Regions from separate parts of the Homo sapiens genome. Here all the other regions are linked to region 1. Evidence: promoter capture Hi-C in human tissues and cell types (Jung and others, 2019). All regions are on one chromosome and are shown on one strand. The core of a region is centred on a gene start or on the middle of the fragment in contact, and the rest is flanking DNA. Distances in the headings are between cores, read along the strand shown. Region 1 holds the start of STAM2 (signal transducing adaptor molecule 2). Region 2 holds the start of RIF1 (replication timing regulatory factor 1). Region 3 overlaps PRPF40A (pre-mRNA processing factor 40A).

The links. The method cuts DNA at HindIII sites, captures the fragments that hold promoters and counts their contacts. A contact is called where the count stands out against the background at its distance.
Region 2: the fragment with the promoter of RIF1 here is called in contact with the fragment with the promoter of STAM2 in region 1 in 1 of the 25 tissues and cell types used here (stomach).
Region 3: a contact is called between a fragment that was not itself captured here and the fragment with the promoter of STAM2 in region 1, in 1 of the 25 tissues and cell types used here (lymphoblastoid cells).

The regions. Positions count from the first base shown.
Region 1 is chr2:152,173,711-152,177,614 of GRCh38, reverse strand. STAM2 (signal transducing adaptor molecule 2) reads left to right here and starts at 1,852. Exons shown (of 14, transcript NM_005843.6): 1 at 1,852-2,012. The coding sequence starts at 1,973. It overlaps LOC105373689 (a long non-coding RNA gene), which reads right to left and starts at 2,082. Exons shown (of 3, transcript XR_923477.3): 1 at 1,058-2,082. RefSeq lists enhancers at 1,495-1,914, 1,391-1,914, 2,075-2,214, 2,265-2,314. The HindIII fragment of the contact is 11,387 bases long and covers 1-3,904 here.
Region 2 is chr2:151,407,758-151,411,661 of GRCh38, reverse strand. RIF1 (replication timing regulatory factor 1) reads right to left here and starts at 1,760. Exons shown (of 36, transcript NM_018151.5): 1 at 1,629-1,760; 2 at 1,135-1,248; 3 at 324-402. The coding sequence starts at 1,238. RefSeq lists enhancers at 1,688-1,847, 1,452-2,150, 2,151-2,849 and a silencer at 2,553-2,847. The HindIII fragment of the contact is 11,212 bases long and covers 1-3,904 here.
Region 3 is chr2:152,695,900-152,699,803 of GRCh38, reverse strand. The region is part of intron 2 of PRPF40A (pre-mRNA processing factor 40A); the gene reads left to right. Among named protein-coding and RNA genes, the nearest start is that of PRPF40A, 20 kb to the left of the region's middle. The HindIII fragment of the contact is 9,200 bases long and covers 1-3,904 here.

The DNA of each region.
Region 1 (3,904 bases), core at 603-3,102:
TGGGTAACAGAGTGAGACTCCATCTCAAAAAAAATTTTTTTTTACTATTCTGCTACCCAATATCCTTAAATAATTATTGAGTGCCTTAATCAAAATAAAAAATTCCCAGCTTGCCCTTTAAAATTCTTGTCAATCTGTTTCCTCTTATACCTAGTCAGCCTTGTTTTCCATTCCAACACTAAGTCTTAGACAAAAAGTCTTTATCTGTCCAAAAAATCTCTAAGTCTTTTTTTTTTTTCTTTTTTCGAGACAGAGTCTTGCTCTGTTGCCCAGGCTGGAGTGCAGTTGCCTGATCTTGGCTCACTGTAACCTCTGCCTCCTGGGCTCAAGTGATTCTCGTGCCTCAGCCTCCCAAGAAGTTGGCATTACAGGCTTGCGCCACCATGCCTGGCTAATTTTTGTATTTTTAGTAGAGACGGTTTTTCGCCATGTTAGCCAGTCTGGTCTTGAACTCCTGGCCTCAAGCAGTCTGCCCGCCTTGGCCTCCCAAAGTGCTGGGATTACATGCGTGAGCCACCATGCCCGGCCTCCCAATTTATCTTGAACATCCCTAGGTTCAACGTTCTATGAAAAACAGCCCCTTCTGCACGATTCCTTCTCATTTGTGCCCCGAACTTTATAAAATGCAACCACCTTTCTGAATGTGTATGAGCTCTCTATAGCATCAGGTCTTTATACTAGAGTTTGTAAAATGGTTTTGATTAATCTATTATTTAAAATGTTGGAGTAATTCTCAACATTTAAACATCATTGAAAAATTGCAAACTCTAGTAGGACCCACATTTCAATAAATGGCTGCAATTTACCAGTAGTTGACATCTTTAGATACGCACTGTTCAGTTAGAAAGTTACAGCTTCATTCGAAAAGCATTGAGCGTCTATTACTTGGGACACTGTTTTAGACGCTGGGGATATAGTAGTGACCAAAACTTATCAGGGAGTTTATAATCTAATGAGGAGGAGAGACAGGCAACATAATCATTACTACAGTTTTCTAAGAGGAACAGAGAATATGTGGGTGGGAAGGGTGCTTGGGCTTTTGCATTCATTTAAATACCTGGCTGGATGCTGTTGGAATTTGAGTTTATGACTCGTACTACCATCCGAATCGTCATACACCATCATGTACGTTATGCACTGCCCCTATAAAACTCTCAACAAGTCTAAGGCAGGGAGTGTGCCTCCTTCGCCTTTGGATTCCGGGGGCCCAGCAGTGTTTTTATGGAGGGGACACGATGGAAAGCGAAAAGTTAGGCGTAGTTACTTCGACCACCGCTGTCCCGGGTGGTTATTCTGACGGGGTTTGGACTGGGCGCCTGGGAGGGTGCAACACAATAATTGTTGAAGAGCAGTCAGGTCTTTCGCAGAATCTCAAAGCCACCTCCGCGCCGGCAGCTCCGTTTCTAGGGAAACAGGACTGTAACGCGTACGCGTCGTGGGTCCTCGTTCTCTAGCTACGAGTCCTGCCGCTCTGAAACAAACTAAATTCGTGACAAGAACTTGGCCCTCAGAGCCCGTCGTCCAACGCGAAAAACCACGGGTAACCGCGCCCCCTGCCGCGCCGCCGCTGGCACTGCAGCTTCCGGGGTCGTCCAGTTCCAGGCGGGACTACTTCCGGCTCCGAAGGTCCCCGGCTTCGTGGCTAGCCGGGGTCCTAGCGCTGGAAAGGTGGCCGTAGCGGCCGCCTGACCCCTACAAAAGTCTGGGACAGGGGCAGCGACAAAGGCCTTGGGAGGACGCCCATGGTCGGAGGGATCTCGCCCCGGGAGAAAAGTTGGGACAGGAGCGCGGGATCGAAGGGTGGACTCCGAGCCGGCCTGTCAGGCAAGAGCCGGGCAGGTGCGGTGGCGGAAGTGCAGGGACGGAGGCCGAAGCGGAGCGGTCTAGGGAGCCGCGGCCGCGGGTCACCCGGCGGGTAGCAGTTGCTGAGTGTCAGCTAGACAGCAGCGACTAGGGCTCGGGCGCCGGCGAGATGCCTTTGTTCACCGCCAACCCCTTCGAGCAAGACGTGGGTGAGTGCTGTGCCCGGTCCTGGACTGCTGTGTGCCTGGCCCTGGACTGCTGTTTGTCCGGCTAGAAAGTGGGCGGTAGCGACTCCGGGGACTAGGAAGCAAAGCGAAGGGAGGGGAGGGGCGGTGCCGCCCGCTCCTTCGACGTTGGGATTTTTCTGGGGCAACCTCGGCGCGTCGCTAGCGGTCTGGGGAGTGCTTCCTGCCGCCTGAGTTTGGGGACCCTCAAAGGGCCGTTCTCCTTGCCAAGCGTAGGATTTGGGAAGAGCCTAGGGCTCGCTGGAGACTGGACTGATTAAGTAGTTGTGGAGTTGGTGATTAAAAACTTCCTGCTCGTTCGACAGCTGGTTACCTCCGTCTTTGCCCCATCGTTTTCTGAAGATGATGCAGCAGTGGAGACCCTGCTGTCTAGAGAAGCCCAACACTAGACACTTGACACCTAGACAACCGCATTGAATAGGAAGAACTTACTTCCCCATTATTTATATTACTCATGCATTCAATCCCTGATAGGGTAGCTTTAAGATTTATTACAATTGTAAAGGTGTTGCTCTTCATCCCCGGATTGCAAAGATTGCGCGGGTGCTAGGAGATGTTCGGTTTTAGAGTATGAAAAGGAAATCTCCAGTCTCAAAACACTCCAGAACAACAAGTATTTTACATGTTGCAGTCATAAAGCGCTGGTCTCTCAGTGACTATAGAATGAGAAAAACATGGATAAGATATATACGAAATTATTTAGGAAATTTGAGTAACACTAAAACAAACTGAGAAATATATGTATGTATTCTCGAAAGTCTGGGTCTCACTATGTTGCCCAGGTGCGACTAGAATTCCTCCCACCTCAGCCTCCACCTCCGTTTCCCCTTCCCGAGTAGCTGGGACTACAGGTTTGTTTTTTGTTTGTTTTTGTAGCAGTAGTTAACAGAACCCTAGGTAAATTTTTAGAACTTGGAAATGGGGTTGGGGCGGGGAGACTCAGAAGAATACTGCACATCTCAGCAGTAATTCCCCTGTTTCATAGTTAACATTTGGTTATTAGGAGACTGTAGAAAGTGCCCTATTCTGATACGTTGTGTAATCCCCTAAGCCATTTTAAAAAACATGTTTGAGTCAAATAATATATGTAAATAGTTCAAATATGTATGTTCCTTACTTCATTAAACTTTTTTTTTGGTGGATGAATACAGGTGACTGGCGTAAATCTGGGAAACATCACTCTTAAGGCTCACTGTTTCCTTTTGGAACGCCTCATTGCAGTATTCTTTTGTTTGAATCATACAACCTTTGTGCAACCTGTACTTTTAAAAAATTGCTATTATGAACACTTTGATTCTGTTCTAATGAAATAAAACAGAAGGCGCAAAATAGAATTAGACAAATGATTTTAAAACTTAAAAACCGTGAATTCTTTTCTTCAATATAAATTTTTCTTGAAAGTTCATTGTTTTCTGATGGAAAAATTCTCTGGTACAAGTAGGCAGAGTTGCTCTGTCTGTTCTGTTCTAAACCTTTCCCTGCCTGGCTCCCGAGGCCCCAGCATTGGTTTAGTGGATCACAGTTTAGTCCTACAGTTGTAAAGGAGGCACTGCTGTTGAGATTAAAAAAACAAACAAACAAAAAAACTGTGTCTAGATTATTTTATGGCCAGTGCCATAAGCCAGAGCTTCAAGTAGTTACATATTAGCTTAAGCATGACTGAATTCAGAACCCCAAAGGCATTTTAAGGGTGAAAGAATGAATTTGAGGCCCTCCTGTAACTTCTGGACAAGAGAATGGAATTAGAAAAAGTAGAATGAAATACTAAAGAGCTCAAATTGGACTTGCACGTATATCATAGAAGAAAAATTATATATTACGTTTTTAATATCTTAAAACTTTTCATTTCAAATCGT
Region 2 (3,904 bases), core at 511-3,010, 770 kb after region 1:
TGGGAGGCTGAGGCAGGCGGATCACCTGAGGTCGGGAGTTCGAGACCAGCCTGACCAACATGGAGAAACCCCTTCTCTACTAAAAATACAAAATTAGCCGGGGCGGTGGCGGATGCCTATAATCCCAGCTATTCAGGAGGCTGAGGCAAGAGAATCGCTTGAACCCGAGAGGCGGAGGTTTCAGTGAGCCGAGCCCGAGCCTGAGCCATTGCACTCTCGCCTGGGCAACAAGAGCAAAACTACACCTCAAAACAAAAAAACAAAACCAAAAAAAAAAACCAAACTACCAAAAGTGAAAAACTGTTTAACAAACAGATACATACCTTTAAAACTTTGTACAGCCGAGGAAGTTTTTTCTCAATTTCTGTAATTACTTCTTTTCCTTCTTCTCCAGTCATACGACTTAAAAAGCAGGAAGAACACAAGTTTAAGTAGTTGACAGGAAAAAAAAAAATACTCTCAAAAATACATGTACAATCTTTTTAAAAATTACTTTCTAACTCCTGCAAATGAATTGACCCAGTAGGTAAGGTCCTTAAGGGTATACAGAATATATAATGCAATATATATCAGAAATGAAAGTAGAAAAACCCTCAGAATAAGTTTTTACATCGAGTACATGCAAGTTGTGACAACCTGACTCCAAAAAGACAGAACAGGGATCCCTATTCCTAGTTACTAACGATTTGCTAAGCCTTTCCAAAGGGTTTTACAAAACTTTAGTACATTTCTATGAAAATTACTTTGAAGCATTTTGCAATTAATAAAAATCAGTGTATTGCTCTGTTAAAAAAACTCTGGGTAGCCACATTTTCCCAACACATCGGAGGTTTACACTGAAGACCCCTCCTCCAACAACTACTTCCAACCGAAACTTTTAAAAATCCCTCGCTTGCAAAACACACGTGCATGCTCCCTCGTTCCAAACACACACCTCAAGCGCAGCAGCAGCAGTACCCGGGAACGTCACCTAGAATACATCTCCCCCGCCCCCCAAGGCGTCCGCGACTCGGGCGTCCTCACATTTGCTAGACTTCTAGAACTCACATTCATTCTACGCGCCCCTCCCAACCACCTTCTTTCTCCCCACTATAGAGCGCCCCACTCTCCGCTACGCCCCGTGGCGGACCTCACCTGGTCAGAGTCAGGTAAGCGTCAGTCTGCCCTCCATGGGAGGCAGAAGGGTCTTCCAAAGTCTCCAACAGCGGCGCGAGGGGGCTCTGACCCCTGGCCGTCATGTCGGCCACCCTGAGGCCCGAACCGGAAGAGGAGAAAATCCAGTGACCGATGGAAACAGCCCCGCGGCGGCCCAGTGTGAGTCCGGCCCTCACACCCGCACGCCCGCCCGGGCCTCACAGCCACGCCGCGTCTGCACCCCAGGCCTCCGAATCACCAAACCCCAGCGCGAACCTCCTCCGGCGCCCGACACCAGACACCTGAGCCCACGCCACATTCGGGCCTGGGCCCGCTCCCGCCACCACTTTCCCGGGCAGCTTTCAACAGAGGGAGGAGATCGGCGGAGGGCGGGAGAAGCCCGGGGAACGAGGCATCTCGCCGCGAGGGGGCGGAGGGTGGGCAGACTGAGGGTTCCCCGCGGCCTACCACTGTCACCCCGATATTTATCCCACCTAGGAAGATCAGGACAGGGTTCTCTCCGCCTCTGCCCCTCAGCACCCAGACGCTGCCAGAGCTCGACTTTCCCAGCTCCGGCTGTTTACTCACGCGTGCGGCGCGCTCCCTCCTAGACCAAGATGGCGGCTGGGCGGGCCCAGGAGTGCGCGGGAGTAGGTTAGGCCTGGCGGGAGAAGTTCGAGCCAATCCAACAGTCAGCGGCACACCGGAGTTATCGATCGCCTCCCTTCCCATCCCTTCCCATCCCTTCCCTGCCCAGCTGCCGCGTCACGCCCCTCTGGTGAGCATCAGGTGGTGGTGTTTTGCCTAAGGCGAGAGACTTGAAATTCAAAATGTGAGTTAATTGCTCAGACTCACTAGACTGAACATAGTGGGCCCTCAGACTAAGTGTTCAAACTCCAAGTCCAGTGCTTGTTGAAGTTTTAGCAACAAATCAGTTAGCAAAAGGAGATAACGTACTGTTGGGTTTAAGACTAAGAGCTGGCCGGGCGCGGTGACTCACACCTTGTAATCCAAGCACTTTGGGAGGCCGAGTCTGAGGTCAGGAGTTCGAGACCAGCCTGGCCAACACATGGTGAAACCCCGTCTCTACTTAAAAAAAACAAAAATACAAAAATTAGTTGGGTGTGGTGGCGCACGCCTGTAGTCCCAGCCACTTGGGAAGCTGAGGCAGGAGAATCGCTTAAACCCGGGAAGCGGAGGTTGCAGTGGGCCGAGATCACGCCACTGCACTCCAGCCTGAGCGACAGAGTAAGAGTAAGACTCCGTCTCTCAAAAAAAAAAAAAAAGAAAGAAAGAAAAAGAAAAGAACTGTATCTCAAGCTGGTCTAGATTCCAGCTGGTCTAGGTTCCATGTGACTTTAGCAAGTTAATTAACCTATGCCTCAATTTCCTCCTCTATAAAATAGGGCTTTTAATAGGTGAAGTGAGAAAAGGTTGGAGAGGCCAATGGTTCTCAGGTCTTAAGCGTACATAACAATGGCCTGGGGATATTCGTTATTAAACTGCAGATTCCTGGGCCCCGCCCATATGCATTGTAATTCAGTAGATTTAGGTAGCTCCCGAGGATGTGCATTCTTCTGTTAGGCCCCTGGGGGGTTGAAGGGTGGGATTTGGCCAGGGCTTCTTCCCTAGAGAAACGTCAGTAAACACAATGACAGTCATTTCTCCTTACTGTGAATATGCTGCTCCTCCCCCGCCTTTTTTTTTTTTTAAGACGGAGCCTCGTTCTTTCGCCCAGGCTGGAGTGCAGTGGTGCGATCTCGGCTCACTGCAACCTCTGCCTCCCGGGTTCAAGCGAGTCTCTGACTCAGCCTCCCGAGCAGCTGGGATTACAGGCGCCCGCCACCACACCTGGCTAATTTTTGTACTTTTAGTAGAGACGGGGTTTCACCATCTTGGCCGTGCTGGTCTCGAACCCCTGACCTCGTGATCCACCCGCCTCGGACACCCAAAGTGCTGGGATTACAGGCGTGAGCCACCGCGCCCGGTCTGCTTCTCCCCTTTTCATATGCCTTCGTGCACTCTCCACAACAGACAGGATTGCATTAACTCTAAATCAGACACATGAAGCCCAGCAGCAATGGAACTCTCCATCATGGGTTCCTGGCCCAGGATTTGAGCCCTCACTCACATGTGCTGCAACTCTCAGCTCTAGAAGTGGGATGTTGCTTTTTGCTCTTCTTTGTGTCATCTGCACTTAGCAAAATGACTGCCAAACGACGCAGTACATACATAGTATGCTTATATATATATTTATTTATTTATATGTATTTATATATATTTATATTTATTTACATATATTTATATATATACACACACACACATACATATATACATATACATATATATATATATATATATATTTTTTTTTTTTTTTTTTTTTTTTTTTTTTTTGAGACGGAGTCTCGCTCTATCACCCAGGCTGGAGTGCACTGACCTGATCTCAGCTCACTGCATCCTCCGCCTCCTGGGTTCAAGCGATTCCCCTGCCTCAGCCTCCCGAGTAGCTGGGATTACAGGCATGCGCCACCACGCCCAGCTAATTTTTTGTATTTTAGTATAGACAGGTTTCACCATGTTGGCCAAGATGGTCTTGATCTCCTGACCTCGTGATCAGCCCGCCTCGGCCTCCCAAAGTGCTGGGATTACAGACTTGAGCCACCACGCCTGCCTCTACCCATTCATTAGAACATAAATTCTGTGAGAACAGGGATTTTGCTTTATTTTTTTCATAATTTCCCATTTGTAATGAAAGGACTACGGTGGTCAT
Region 3 (3,904 bases), core at 1,005-3,504, 520 kb before region 1:
CCACATCTGTATTATCCCATTTGTTCTCTATAATAATCTTATCAGATGGGTAATGTTTTTTCTCATTGATGAAGAGTTTGAGGTCCAGAGAGGTCAAATAAATTAGCCCAAGATCGCACCTTTGTTAATTGGGATAAGAATTCTTCCAGTCTTCCTTCAGACTGCATTATCTATATATATCAGTATAAGATTATGTAATTGAGTTAATTTCGTTAGACCCTGAAGGGGTTGCTGTACTTCAGCAGTTCTAAATTCTGTAGGTTGAGAAAGTTTAGCAAATTTTGAATACTGGCACTTGTTTTATTACATGGTAAGGTTCTATTCTGCATGATAACAATTTGTACAAATATTGTCTACCCTTTATTTATCTAAATATTTCTTATCAAAAAATGATGTTTTGAATTTATATTGCTCTAGATCGGGGTATCCAATCTTTTGGCTCCCCTGGGCCATTTGGAAGAAGAATAATAGTCTTGGGCCACTCATCAGATACACTAACACTAACAATATCTGATGAGCTTAAAAAAAAAAACAGCCAAAAAAACAATGTTTTAATAAAGCTTACAAATTTGTGTTGAGACACATTCAAAGCTGTCCTGGGCCACATGTGGCCCATGGCCTGCAGGTTGGACAGGCTTGCTTTAGATGAAGAGGAAGTAGGTTAAATGATTTCCACAAAATGCCACCAGTTACTTTTGGTTGCTAAGGATATTTCCATTTATTTCCGATCGAATGAATGTTTAGTTCTCTTTAAAGATTCAGTTTGTGCATTTATTCAGGATTTTTGGTATTTATTTATATGTTCATAAAATAATTTAGTGGTATATGAGATAGTTGTTTTAAAATACTAAACAGCCTTTGTAGGTTGTACTTATCTTACGGAATTTTACTTTAGCACACTTATGAAGAACCCCAAGTAAAAAGGTAGACATGAAACTTACTTAGATTATCAATTTGCTGCTACAGGTTTGCAGCAAGAATGGTTTTTAAAAAACCACCAGATTTAGGAGTTAATTTTTTTTTCAGGTGATTTTGTTTGTAATACTAGACAAGAGATACGTCCAATTGTTTGTGATTTCTTTCCGGTAGGAAAAACTTCAGTAAATAACTATGAAGGAAAGAACTTGTGAAGTCCCCATGTGAAGTTCTTCACTTTTAAGGTGCTTTCTTTTCATATCATGGTAAAATTGGACCAACTGAATTTACACTTTGTAAAATTCACTCACTGTAGCATTGATATTGCTTCATTACTACCACTTTTTATTTTCATTTTTTAAAATATGTAGAGTGATAAATGAAATATGTTTGTTTATATCTAACATTAGAAACTTTCTGGGATGCTCAGAATGACTGAACAGGTTGTGTGATGCTCCCTAGTGTTTTGTTCATTTATTTTTTATTTTCCTCAAACTGATGATTCTTCTGAGAACATCTTGATAATTAGTTTTATACGTATTAAAAGAATAGGAAACAGAAATGGTTTACATAGTATAAATATACATATGGTTGGCCACTTATGAATTGTATAAAATATATATCAGCTACGTTTTTTAAAGGTGCCAAATTGTTCATAATATTCAGATGTTTAACATTTTAGGAAATTTAGTTTATGTCTCAAACAACTAAAAATTTTTAATTACAGCACTTTTACATATAATACCAAAGTTGTTTAAATGGGAATTTGTAAAGCAGTACATGGTTTTGATTTTATAGTATGCTTCACATTAAGTAAATATGAACTCTACCACTTTGTAGCCTTAAGAATGATGTGGCTCATGGAATTTGTTGTGGCGTTATTGTAGCAACTAAGTTAATAATTTTTCACCTTCAGTATTTTGAAGCAACATCCCATTTTCATTGAACTTAAATGGAGAGACACAGTATTACATTTGTGTGCCACATAGTGCCATATTGGTAAATGACAGACTACATACACAATGGTGGTGCTGTTAGATCATATACTACCTTATTTTTACTATGTCTTTTCTATGTCTAGATATACAAATACTTAGCATTGTGTTACAGTTGCCTCCAGTATTCAGTACTGTAACATGTTATAAAGGTTTGTAGCCTAGGAGTAATAGGCTATGCCATAATAGCCTAGATGTGTAGTAGACTATAACCATCCAGGTTTGTGTAAGTGCATTATATGATACACAATGATGATATCTCCTGATGACACAATTCTCAGAACATACGGTCATTAAATGACACATGACTGTATTTTATGTGCCCCTAAAAGTGGGAAAAAAAAAACACCTAAATGGAAAATCTGAAACTTACTCAACAGATAAAGTTGAGACACCAAAGGGCTATACCCTCCATGGAAAGAAGAACTATACCTACCATGCCAGAGGAGACAGTAAAGAAATTTGAATGTTTTAACTCTTATTATTGGGATGAGGGAGGAAAAAATCACGTCTGAGGAGTTGAGCCGTAGCCAATTCTCATAAGTTTGCATCCTGTATTCCCATTAACAGTAAGTGTTATAGATAGCTTAGAAACTTTTAATGGTCTCAGATTGATGGTGCTGCCAAAGTGACTGGCATAAATCAACACAAATTCTTTAAAAGATTCAGCTTCAAAGAAAGAGATTATAAAAAGTATCTCTATGTTATGTATATCCTAGAATTAATAGAAAATGGGAATCATAACATTGCCACAAAGTAGGTTTTTTAGACTTTGAAAAACAGACTTTTCTGGGATGCTCAGTCCTCTAAAGGAACTCTAAATTTCTCAAATTCTTACAATAGTTTTTCATACAAAATACAGTATTTTGCATATTTGTGGTTTTGTTCTTTGGTTTTATGTAAACATCACAGTTTTGGTTTAAATTACATTAATGAATGATCGATTTACTCTCAGGATATTCAGTTATATTTAATTTAGGACTTGCAGATTAGTTTGTTGGGTAAAACAAGATTAACTAGTCTTCACCCCCAGTATTTACAGAGATACCAAGGGAGAATGTAGCTTTTTATTTGACATTAAATCTCATTCTATAATCAATACCATGATTTCCAGTCTGAAAGAACATTTTTGAGGTGTTTAAACATTTTAGGTATGGGAAGAAGAACAATTAAAGAGAGAACTCTGTCAGACTCTATGTTCTTCAGTGATTTTCAATTACTGCCTACTGGAGGTCTCATTGGCCTGGTCTACTAAACTCTTAAATATTTGTTTTTTTGTGGCTTTGGTTTTAAAGAAGATTTTATCTTTATGTGTGTGATAAAGTCAGGATATTTCAATTTGAATTTATATTTATTTGTACAGTCTGCTGCTACCATAAGAGAATTTTTTTTTTTTTTTTTTTTTTTTTGAGACGAAGTCTCTCTGTTGCCCAGGCTGGAGTGCAGTGGCGCAATCTCAGCTCACTGCAGCCTCCGCATCCCAGGTTCAAGTGATTCTCCTGCCTCAGCCTCCCAAGTAGCTGGGACTGCAGGCGCGTGCCACCATGCCTGGGTAATTTTTTGTATTTATAGTAGAGACGGGTTTCACCGTGTTAGCCAGGAAGATCTCGATTTCCTGACCTCATGATCCGCCTGCCTTGGCCTCCCAAAATGTTGGGATTACAGGAGTGAGCCACCACGCCCGGCGAGAGACTGTTCTATTGCATTATGCAGATTTTACTCTACTTTAAAAAATACCTTTAATTCTTCCGAGAAGTTACTTTGATTAGTTTTTCTCTCTAAGTTTTCAGACCTTGATCTCAATTTAGCTTAGAATTCTAGTTTTGGTTATGTTACTAGCTTTTGATTTTATATGTAGGTTACTTAAAGTAGCAGGCAGTTTCCCTGTTGCCTGTCATGCATCTTGGTTGCTTTCCCACACAACCAGTTACCTGATTCAGCGTATTTTACATTGGCCTAAAGCAAAATTAATTATGAGGATATATCTGTTGGCG